Regions from separate parts of the Homo sapiens genome. Here region 2 is linked to region 1. Evidence: promoter capture Hi-C in 16 types of primary human blood cells and fetal thymus (Javierre and others, 2016). All regions are on one chromosome and are shown on one strand. Each heading gives the region's core, a stretch centred on a gene start or on the middle of the fragment in contact. The rest is flanking DNA. Distances are from core to core; before and after follow the strand shown. Region 1 holds the start of CDC6 (cell division cycle 6). Region 2 holds the start of CSF3 (colony stimulating factor 3).

Region 1 (4,795 bases), core at 1,380-3,879:
GGTCTTTGACTCCAAGGAACTCATAGTTTAGTAGACTTCAGGATAGCTACCAGGAGAAACCTATGCAGGATATTAAAAGGCTTTATGGGAGTTAGCCAGGGAAGATGGATGGTTAGTGGCATTCCAGACAGAGGAAACAGCAAAAACAAAGGCACAGAAGCAAGAAACAATATGATGTGTACGCATCACGTTACTGGAGGATCATTATTAGTGCAAAGGAAAAGCTTCAAGTAGATAACCTTTCAGTCCTGACATTCTGTGATTATTTGCCTGCTTCCACAGTGGTCATTTACACCTGTAGGCTTTTCTTGGGCCACTGCTATGTTTCCTAGTGTCTTCTTTTCTTTTTTTTTTGAGGCGGAGTCTCGCTTTGTCGCCCAGGCCGGAGTGCAGTGGCGTGGCGTGATCTCCACTCACTGCAAGCTCCACCTCCCGGGTTCACACCATTCTCCCGCCGCAGCCTTCTGAGTGGCTGGGACTATAGGCACCCGCCACCACGCCTGGCTAATTTTTTTGTATTTTAGTAGAGACGGGGTTTCACCGTGTTAGCCAGGATGGTCTCGATTTCCTGACCTCGTGATCCACCCGCCTCAGCCTCCCAAAGTGCTGGGATTACAGGCGTGAGCCACCGCACCCAGCCATTTCCTGGTGTTTTCATAGGTTCCAATATGCATGCTAAGTACTCATAGCTTCCTAGGTTGTTTACCATAACCACCCCTTACAGCTGGCTGGGCACACATTACCATTTCAGGTTATTAAGGGCAATTCTTAGGTGCCCATGTTATAAAAATACGAACAGTGAAGGTTGCTTCCTGAGTTCTACTATCCTACTAAGACATCAGAAATACCATCTAGTCCTTTTAAAAGCTTCCACTGTGGCCAAGAGCGGTGGTTCATGCCTGTAATCCCAGCACTGTGGGAGGCTGAGGTGGGTGGATCATGAAGTCAGGAGTTTGAGACCAACCTGGCCAACATGGTGAAACCCCTCTACTAAAAATTCAAATATTAGCCAGGCGTGGTGACGCGTGCCTGTAGTCCCGGCTACTCAGGAGGCTGAGGCAGGAGAATGGCTTGAACCCAGGTGGTGGAGATTGCAGTGAGCCGAGATCATGGCACGGCACTCAAGCCTGGGTGATAAAATGAGACTTGTCTCAAAAATAAAAAAAAAAAAAGCTTCCATTGTGTGGTAACTTTCTCCATTCATGGCAGCCCATTCTCTTCACTTTTGTAGTTTTCAGCTGCTAAAAAGCCTTCACGAAATGTACTCCACCATCTCTTCCTGTTTAGAACCTGAATCTGTCTAATCATCCCCCTATGATAAAGTGGTCAAGAGTTTGATTTTCTGTCAGAGTTCAGAGTTCAAATTCTAGCTCTTCCACTTACTAGTTGTGTGACCTTGGGCAAGTTTACTCAACTCCCCTCTACTGTAGTTCCCTCATTTGTAAAGTGAAATAACACCAGGTTCATGGGGGTGCTTGTGAAGATTAATAAGGTGATGTAGGTAAAATACTGAGCACAGCCCCTGGCATACACTTAAGCACTCAATATTGGCTCTCTTCATGAACTAGGTACCAATTCACTGATGATCGTAATATTGTTGCTTCCCTCTTTCTAGGCTTTATGGCTCTATTTTGTTTGTTACTGAGGGGTAAAAGATAAATGTTTACCATCACCTAGAATTGGGTTCTGGCCTCTAAAGGAACCTGAGGCTTAGATGAATTATTGGCTTTGGAAGCTGGCCTTCAAATTACTGCGCTAATTTATATTTTTCATTAAAAACTCAGCTTGCCTCTTCTATATAGCTGTCTTCCCTGGCCCTGAAACCCTAGTGTTTCGCCATAAAAGATTTTAAAATTAAGGGGTCATAATTCCCTCCCCATGATGTGTGGATTAATGGTAAGAAGATGCACAGAACATAATATTCTTAGGTTGAACGAAATAAAAGTAAAGAGTTGGCTCTGTTTCTCACCTTTGAAGCACAAATCAAGAGATACTATGATGAAGCATAGTTTTTCTTTATATAGGTGTGTAGAACTTTACCATAAAAATCACTAGTTCAGCCATCAGGAGATCTGGATCCTAGGCTCTTCACTGTCACCAAGATGCTGTGACCTCTAACCTTGTATAGAAGTTTGCTTTGTACTTTGCGAGGTTGAGCATTAGAGAGGTAAGGAAAGTGCCTAGCATCATACCTGGCGCACAGAACCCAAAACGGTAGGTATCATGTAGCAGTTCTGAAAATCTAGCCCATCAGGATGATGCAAATGGGTACTTTAGGCAGTGAGAAGGGGAACCACATCTTGACACTTCCAGTCGAAGGAAGAGTGCGACTGCGCGGCAGCAAAGACTACGCCTCCCAGCGTGCTTTGCGGCGGGCCGGCCCGCTTTACCCAGAGTCGCCCTGCCGCAATCGCGCGTCTTTCCACCGAGGCCCCGGATGTAGATTCCCTCCCCCGTTCAGTGGTCGTGGCCTCACAGCGACTCTAAGACTTGGGGCTCTCTCATTGGCTGTAACTCTTCCACTGGATTGGTAGCAAAAAAAGAGGCGGTGCCCAAGGCGAAAGGCTCTGTGACTACAGCCAATCAGAATCGAGGCCGGGCTTTGGCGGGAGGTGGGAACGCTGTGGCCATTCGGATTTGGCGCGAGCGCGGCTGGAGTTTGCTGCTGCCGCTGTGCAGTTTGTTCAGGGGCTTGTGGTGGTGAGTCCGAGAGGCTGCGTGTGAGAGACGTGAGAAGGATCCTGCACTGAGGAGGTGGAAAGAAGAGGATTGCTCGAGGAGGCCTGGGGTCTGTGAGGCAGCGGAGCTGGGTGAAGGCTGCGGGTTCCGGCGAGGCCTGAGGTGAAGTGAAGGGAAAAGAGCTGAGCTCGCTGGAGGTCTGAGGTCGGGATCAGGGAAAGGGCAGGTGCCCTCGGGGTAGTTCTAGCAGTTATGCGTGGTGTGAAGGAGGTGAAAGTTGTAGGAAGGAAATATTCTGGGGTGCGTTGAGAGCTGCCTAGAATGAGGACTGAGTGCAGGGGCGGAAAGAACTGAGGGAAGACTGAGCTGCAGTGTGAGGGCTTGGGATAGAAGAGACTAAATGTGGCGGGTGCTGGGCTGAACTGGTGATAAAGACACCCCGCGTGCCTGGAGGGAGGAAACTAGAAGTTCTATATAAATCAATTCATGTAACTTTTTTTTTTTTTTGAGACGGAGTCTCGCTCTTGTCGCCCAGGCTGTAGTGCAGTGGTGCGATCTCGGCTCACTGCAACCTCTGCCTGCCGGGTTCAAGCCATTCTCCTGCCTCAGCCTCTTCATGTAGCTGGGACTACAGGCGCCCGCCACCACGTCCGGCTAATTTTTTTTTTTTTTTTGAGACGGAGTCTCGCTCGGTCTCCCAGGCTGGAGTGCAGTGGCGCGATCTCGGCTCACTGCAAGCTCCGCCTCCCGGGTTCATGCCATTCTCCTGCCTCAGCCTCCCGAGTAGCTGGGACTACAGGCGCCCACCACCACGCCCGGCTAATTTTTTGCATTTTTAGTAGAGACGGGGTTTCACCGTGTTAGCCAGGATGGTCTCGGCCCGTCTCGGCCTCCCAAAGTGTTGGGATTACAGGCGTGAGCCACCGCGTTTGGCCGTAATTTTTGTATTTTTAGTAGAGACGGGGTTTCTCCATGTTGGTCAGGCTGGTCTCGAACTCCTGACCTCAGGTGATCCGCCCGCCTCAGCCTCCCAAAGTGCTGGGATTACAGGCGTGGGCCACCGCGCCCGGCCCATTTCAGGTAACTTGTTATTGCATCGCTCAATTGGTTAAGAACTTGGGCTCTGGCACCAGATGCCCGGGGTTACATTCCTGTTTTTCTGTGACTTTGGGCCACTGTTTATCTCAGTTTTCTCATGTGTAAAATAAAGGCTAATAATAGTACCTACTCCTAAGATCGTTGTTAAACGAGTTGGTACCTAAAGTGTTTATAACAGCGCCCTTCCACGTAGTAGGTAGACAACAAATGTCAGCTGTTCTTGCATAGATTTGGATGTGAAGCAAAAGTGAATGCTAAAATAAGTGTGATAACATAATTAGGAAATAAGTGTTAATCATCAGTATAAATAAATTCCATGTTAGTTATTTTCTCTTCACTTTCACATATTGACTAGTTGTCCTCTTATTTTTTTTAATCTAGCTGTGCTGTCGTCATGCCTCAAACCCGATCCCAGGCACAGGCTACAATCAGTTTTCCAAAAAGGAAGCTGTCTCGGGCATTGAACAAAGCTAAAAACTCCAGTGATGCCAAACTAGAACCAACAAATGTCCAAACCGTAACCTGTTCTCCTCGTGTAAAAGCCCTGCCTCTCAGCCCCAGGAAACGTCTGGGTAAACCATCCATTATATCACTTTTTCACTAGCAGCTCGTGACCTTTCTTTTCTTGGTAAGATGTGTGTCCTTTGAAGGAGCTTTCTAAGTTCAGTTAAGACTTCTTTTTTTTTTTTTTTTTTTTTTTGAGACAGAGTCTCGCTCCATCTCCCAGGCTGGAGTGCAATAGTGCGATCTTGGCTCACTGCAACCTCCGCCTCCTGGGTTCAAGCGATTCTCCTGCCTCAGCCTCCCAAGTAGCTGGGATTACAGGCGCCCACCACCAAGCCTGGCTAATTTTTTTTTTTTTTTTTTTTGGATTTTTAGTTGAGACAGGGTTTTGCCATATTGGCCAATCTGGTCTCTGAACTCCTGACCTCAGGTGATCCAACTGCCTCGGCCTCCCAAAGTGCTGGGATTATAGGCATGAGCTACCGCTCCTGGCCTAAGACTACTCTTCATTTTA
Region 2 (4,795 bases), core at 757-3,256, 270 kb before region 1:
AACCCACCCTCAAGGCCAGGTGCAGTGGCTCATGCCTATAATCCCAGCACTTTGGGAGGCCGAGGCGGGTGGATCACCTGAGGTCAGGAGTTCGAGACCAGCCTGACCACCAACATGGTGAAATCCCACCTCTACTAAAAATACAAAATTAGATGAGCATGGTGGTGCATGCCTGTAATCCCACCTACTTGGGAGGCTGAGGCAGGAAAATCACTAGAACCAGGGAGGCGGAGGTTGTAGTGAGCCGAGATCGTGCCATTGCACTCCAGCCTGAGCAATGAGCGAAACTCCATCTCAAAAAAACAACAACAAAAACCCACCCTCTACTCCCAGGGAGCTGGGTACAGAGCTGGGCCACATCAGTGCAAGGTGCTGAGCCACAGAGCTAAGGCGGAGCTGCAGGACCGCGGACCAGATAACAGTGTGTGAGATCAGTGTGTGAGATCAGACGTCCCTGCCATTGGTGACCACCAGGGGGCCCCCAAGCACCAGAGATGGCCCCATCCAGTCACCACATCCACTTCTCATCCAGAGATGTCTGTTTCTTGGCACGCTGGGGTAAATTAGGACAGAAGGTGACAGTCTTGGGTGTGGTCAGTCAGACTGCCCCAGGCAGGCCTTGTGGCCTGTAGAAAACGTTCAGGCCTAGGCCGGGCACGGTGGCTCACGCCTGTAATCCCAGCACTTTGGGAGGCCGAGGCGGGTGGATCACGAGGTCAGGAGATCGTGACCATCCTGGCTAACACGGTGAAACCCCGTCTCTACTAAAAATACAAAAAATTGGCCGGGCATGGTGGCGGGCACCTGTAGTTCCAGCTACTCGGGAGGCTGAGGCAGGAGAATGGCGTGAACCCGAGAGGCAGAGTTTGCAGTGAGCCGAGATCGCGCCACTGCACTCCAGCCTGGGCGACAGAGCAAGACTCCATCTGGAAAAGAAAAAGAAAACGTTCAGGTCTGAGCCAGAGGCCCAGGCTGTAATTCTGTCACTTACCATGACCTTGGGCAAGGCACTTCCTTCCCTGGCCCAGTTCACGGGGTTGGAATCGACTCCAAGGTCCCTTCCAGCATTAACGCTGCATGGTTCTAAGATGAGAAGATGGGGCAGTTTCCCCTCTCTCACCCCAGCCCGTGTCCACTTCAAGGTGAATGACCAGGGAAGTCACGTGTCCCAATCCCGCAGTTCCAAAGCCCTTGGGGACCCTACTGTCAGGGTCGTGCACGAGGAGGTGAAGGTCAGGTGAGCCAATCGCCTCGAAGGGTCTTGCCTCATTCGGGACAGACATCCGGTTTCCTCTGGCTCTACCGGGATTCTAGGGGCTTTAGCCGAATGAGTCATGGGGGGCGGGGGGGTTTCTGGGGGAGTTCCCAGCTAATCAACTTGGGACAGGACAGCCTGGAACTTTCGATGGTGCCTATCCAAGTGTGGGGTGGGCACAGCAGCCAAGACCCAATGTCCTTATCTCAGGTAGGGGCTCAGGAGGTCTCCCAGACAGGCAGCCTCCGGAGAGTTTGGGGGTAGGAATGGGAGCAACCAGCTTCTTTTTTTCTCTCTTAGAATTTGGGGGCTTGGGGGACAGGCTTGAGAATCCCAAAGGAGAGGGGCAAAGGACACTGCCCCCGCAAGTCTGCCAGAGCAGAGAGGGAGACCCCGACTCAGCTGCCACTTCCCCACAGGCTGCTGCCGCTTCCAGGCGTCTATCAGCGGCTCAGCCTTTGTTCAGCTGTTCTGTTCAAACACTCTGGGGCCATTCAGGCCTGGGTGGGGCAGCGGGAGGAAGGGAGTTTGAGGGGGGCAAGGCGACGTCAAAGGAGGATCAGAGATTCCACAATTTCACAAAACTTTCGCAAACAGCTTTTTGTTCCAACCCCCCTGCATTGTCTTGGACACCAAATTTGCATAAATCCTGGGAAGTTATTACTAAGCCTTAGTCGTGGCCCCAGGTAATTTCCTCCCAGGCCTCCATGGGGTTATGTATAAAGGCCCCCCTAGAGCTGGGCCCCAAAACAGCCCGGAGCCTGCAGCCCAGCCCCACCCAGACCCATGGCTGGACCTGCCACCCAGAGCCCCATGAAGCTGATGGGTGAGTGTCTTGGCCCAGGATGGGAGAGCCGCCTGCCCTGGCATGGGAGGGAGGCTGGTGTGACAGAGGGGCTGGGGATCCCCGTTCTGGGAATGGGGATTAAAGGCACCCAGTGTCCCCGAGAGGGCCTCAGGTGGTAGGGAACAGCATGTCTCCTGAGCCCGCTCTGTCCCCAGCCCTGCAGCTGCTGCTGTGGCACAGTGCACTCTGGACAGTGCAGGAAGCCACCCCCCTGGGCCCTGCCAGCTCCCTGCCCCAGAGCTTCCTGCTCAAGTGCTTAGAGCAAGTGAGGAAGATCCAGGGCGATGGCGCAGCGCTCCAGGAGAAGCTGGTGAGTGAGGTGGGTGAGAGGGCTGTGGAGGGAAGCCCGGTGGGGAGAGCTAAGGGGGATGGAACTGCAGGGCCAACATCCTCTGGAAGGGACGTGGGAGAATATTAGGAGCAGTGGAGCTGGGGAAGGCTGGGAAGGGACTTGGGGAGGAGGACCTTGGTGGGGACAGTGCTCGGGAGGGCTGGCTGGGATGGGAGTGGAGGCATTACATTCAGGAGAAAGGGCAAGGGCCCCTGTGAGATCAGAGAGTGGGGGTGCAGGGCAGAGAGGAACTGAACAGCCTGGCAGGACATGGAGGGAGGGGAAAGACCAGAGAGTCGGGGAGGACCCGGGAAGGAGCGGCGACCCGGCCATGGCGAGTCTCACTCAGCATCCTTCCATCCCCAGTGTGCCACCTACAAGCTGTGCCACCCCGAGGAGCTGGTGCTGCTCGGACACTCTCTGGGCATCCCCTGGGCTCCCCTGAGCAGCTGCCCCAGCCAGGCCCTGCAGCTGGTGAGTGTCAGGAAAGGATAAGGCTAATGAGGAGGGGGAAGGAGAGGAGGAACACCCATGGGCTCCCCCATGTCTCCAGGTTCCAAGCTGGGGGCCTGACGTATCTCAGGCAGCACCCCCTAACTCTTCCGCTCTGTCTCACAGGCAGGCTGCTTGAGCCAACTCCATAGCGGCCTTTTCCTCTACCAGGGGCTCCTGCAGGCCCTGGAAGGGATCTCCCCCGAGTTGGGTCCCACCTTGGACACACTGCAGCTGGACGTCGCCGACTTTGCCACCACCATCTGGCAGCAGGTGAGCCTTGTTGGGCAGGGTGGCCAAGGTCGTGCTGGCATTCTGGGCACCACAGCCAGGCCTGTGTATGGGCCCTGTCCATGCTGTCACCCCCAGCATTTCCTCATTTGTAATAACGCCCACTCAGAAGGGCCCAACCACTGATCACAGCTTTCCCCCACAGATGGAAGAACTGGGAATGGCCCCTGCCCTGCAGCCCACCCAGGGTGCCATGCCGGCCTTCGCCTCTGCTTTCCAGCGCCGGGCAGGAGGGGTCCTGGTTGCCTCCCATCTGCAGAGCTTCCTGGAGGTGTCGTACCGCGTTCTACGCCACCTTGCCCAGCCCTGAGCCAAGCCCTCCCCATCCCATGTATTTATCTCTATTTAATATTTATGTCTATTTAAGCCTCATATTTAAAGACAGGGAAGAGCAGAACGGAGCCCCAGGCCTCTGTGTCCTTCCCTGCATTTCTGAGTTTCATTCTCCTGCCTGTAGCAGTGAGAAAAAGCTCCTGTCCTCCCATCCCCTGGACTGGGAGGTAGATAGGTAAATACCAAGTATTTATTACTATGACTGCTCCCCAGCCCTGGCTCTGCAATGGGCACTGGGATGAGCCGCTGTGAGCCCCTGGTCCTGAGGGTCCCCACCTGGGACCCTTGAGAGTATCAGGTCTCCCACGTGGGAGACAAGAAATCCCTGTTTAATATTTAAACAGCAGTGTTCCCCATCTGGGTCCTTGCACCCCTCACTCTGGCCTCAGCCGACTGCACAGCGGCCCCTGCATCCCCTTGGCTGTGAGGCCCCTGGACAAGCAGAGGTGGCCAGAGCTGGGAGGCATGGCCCTGGGGTCCCACGAATTTGCTGGGGAATCTCGTTTTTCTTCTTAAGACTTTTGGGACATGGTTTGACTCCCGAACATCACCGACGCGTCTCCTGTTTTTCTGGGTGGCCTCGGGACACCTGCCCTGCCCCCACGAGGGTCAGGACTGTGACTCTTTTTAGGGCCAGGCAGGTGCCTGGACATTTGCCTTGCTGGACGGGGACTGGGGATGTGGGAGGGAGCAGACAGGAGGAATCATGTCAGGCCTGTGTGTGAAAGGAAGCTCCACTGTCACCCTCCACCTCTTCACCCCCCACTCACCAGTGTCCCCTCCACTGTCACATTGTAACTGAACTTCAGGATAATAAAGTGTTTGCCTCCAGTCACGTCCTTCCTCCTTCTTGAGTCCAGCTGGTGCCTGGCCAGGGGCTGGGGAGGTGGCTGAAGGGTGGGAGAGGCCAGAGGGAGGTCGGGGAGGAGGTCTGGGGAGGAGGTCCAGGGAGGAGGAGGAAAGTTCTCAAGTTCGTCTGACATTCATTCCGTTAGCACATATTTATCTGAGCACCTACTCTGTGCAGACGCTGGGCTAAGTGCTGGGGACACAGCAGGGAACAAGGCAGACATGGAATCTGCACTCGAGCAGCCAAAGCCTGGCAGGGAAGACAGAGGCACAGGGACCATGGGAACCCGGAAAGGAGAGGGCATGGGGTCTGGGTGGGCTTAACAGGCCAGACACAGCCAGACAAGATGAAGCCAGGGAGTGCTGAGCATCTGCACCAGGCTTGTCATTTACCATC

What was found. Contacts are between HindIII fragments. The CHiCAGO score rates a contact against its expected background, and 5 or more counts as called.
Region 2: a contact is called between the fragment with the promoter of CSF3 here and the fragment with the promoter of CDC6 in region 1, in 1 of 17 cell types (M0 macrophages). The highest score is 5.2, in M0 macrophages.

Annotation. Positions count from the first base shown.
Region 1 is chr17:40,285,250-40,290,044 of GRCh38, forward strand. It overlaps CDC6 (cell division cycle 6), which reads left to right and starts at 2,630. Exons shown (of 12, transcript NM_001254.4): 1 at 2,630-2,841; 2 at 4,159-4,349. The coding sequence starts at 4,172. RefSeq lists enhancers at 2,390-3,197, 2,966-3,145, 3,176-3,245. The HindIII fragment of the contact is 8,752 bases long and covers 1,172-4,795 here.
Region 2 is chr17:40,013,434-40,018,228 of GRCh38, forward strand. It overlaps CSF3 (colony stimulating factor 3), which reads left to right and starts at 2,007. Exons shown (of 5, transcript NM_172219.3): 1 at 2,007-2,081; 2 at 2,258-2,412; 3 at 2,800-2,907; 4 at 3,052-3,198; 5 at 3,362-4,380. The coding sequence starts at 2,042. The coding sequence ends at 3,526. It overlaps PSMD3-AS1 (PSMD3 antisense RNA 1), which reads right to left and starts at 1,208. Exons shown (of 3, transcript NR_198981.1): 1 at 1,121-1,208; 2 at 805-926. RefSeq lists an enhancer at 1,917-2,416. The HindIII fragment of the contact is 16,036 bases long and covers 1-4,795 here.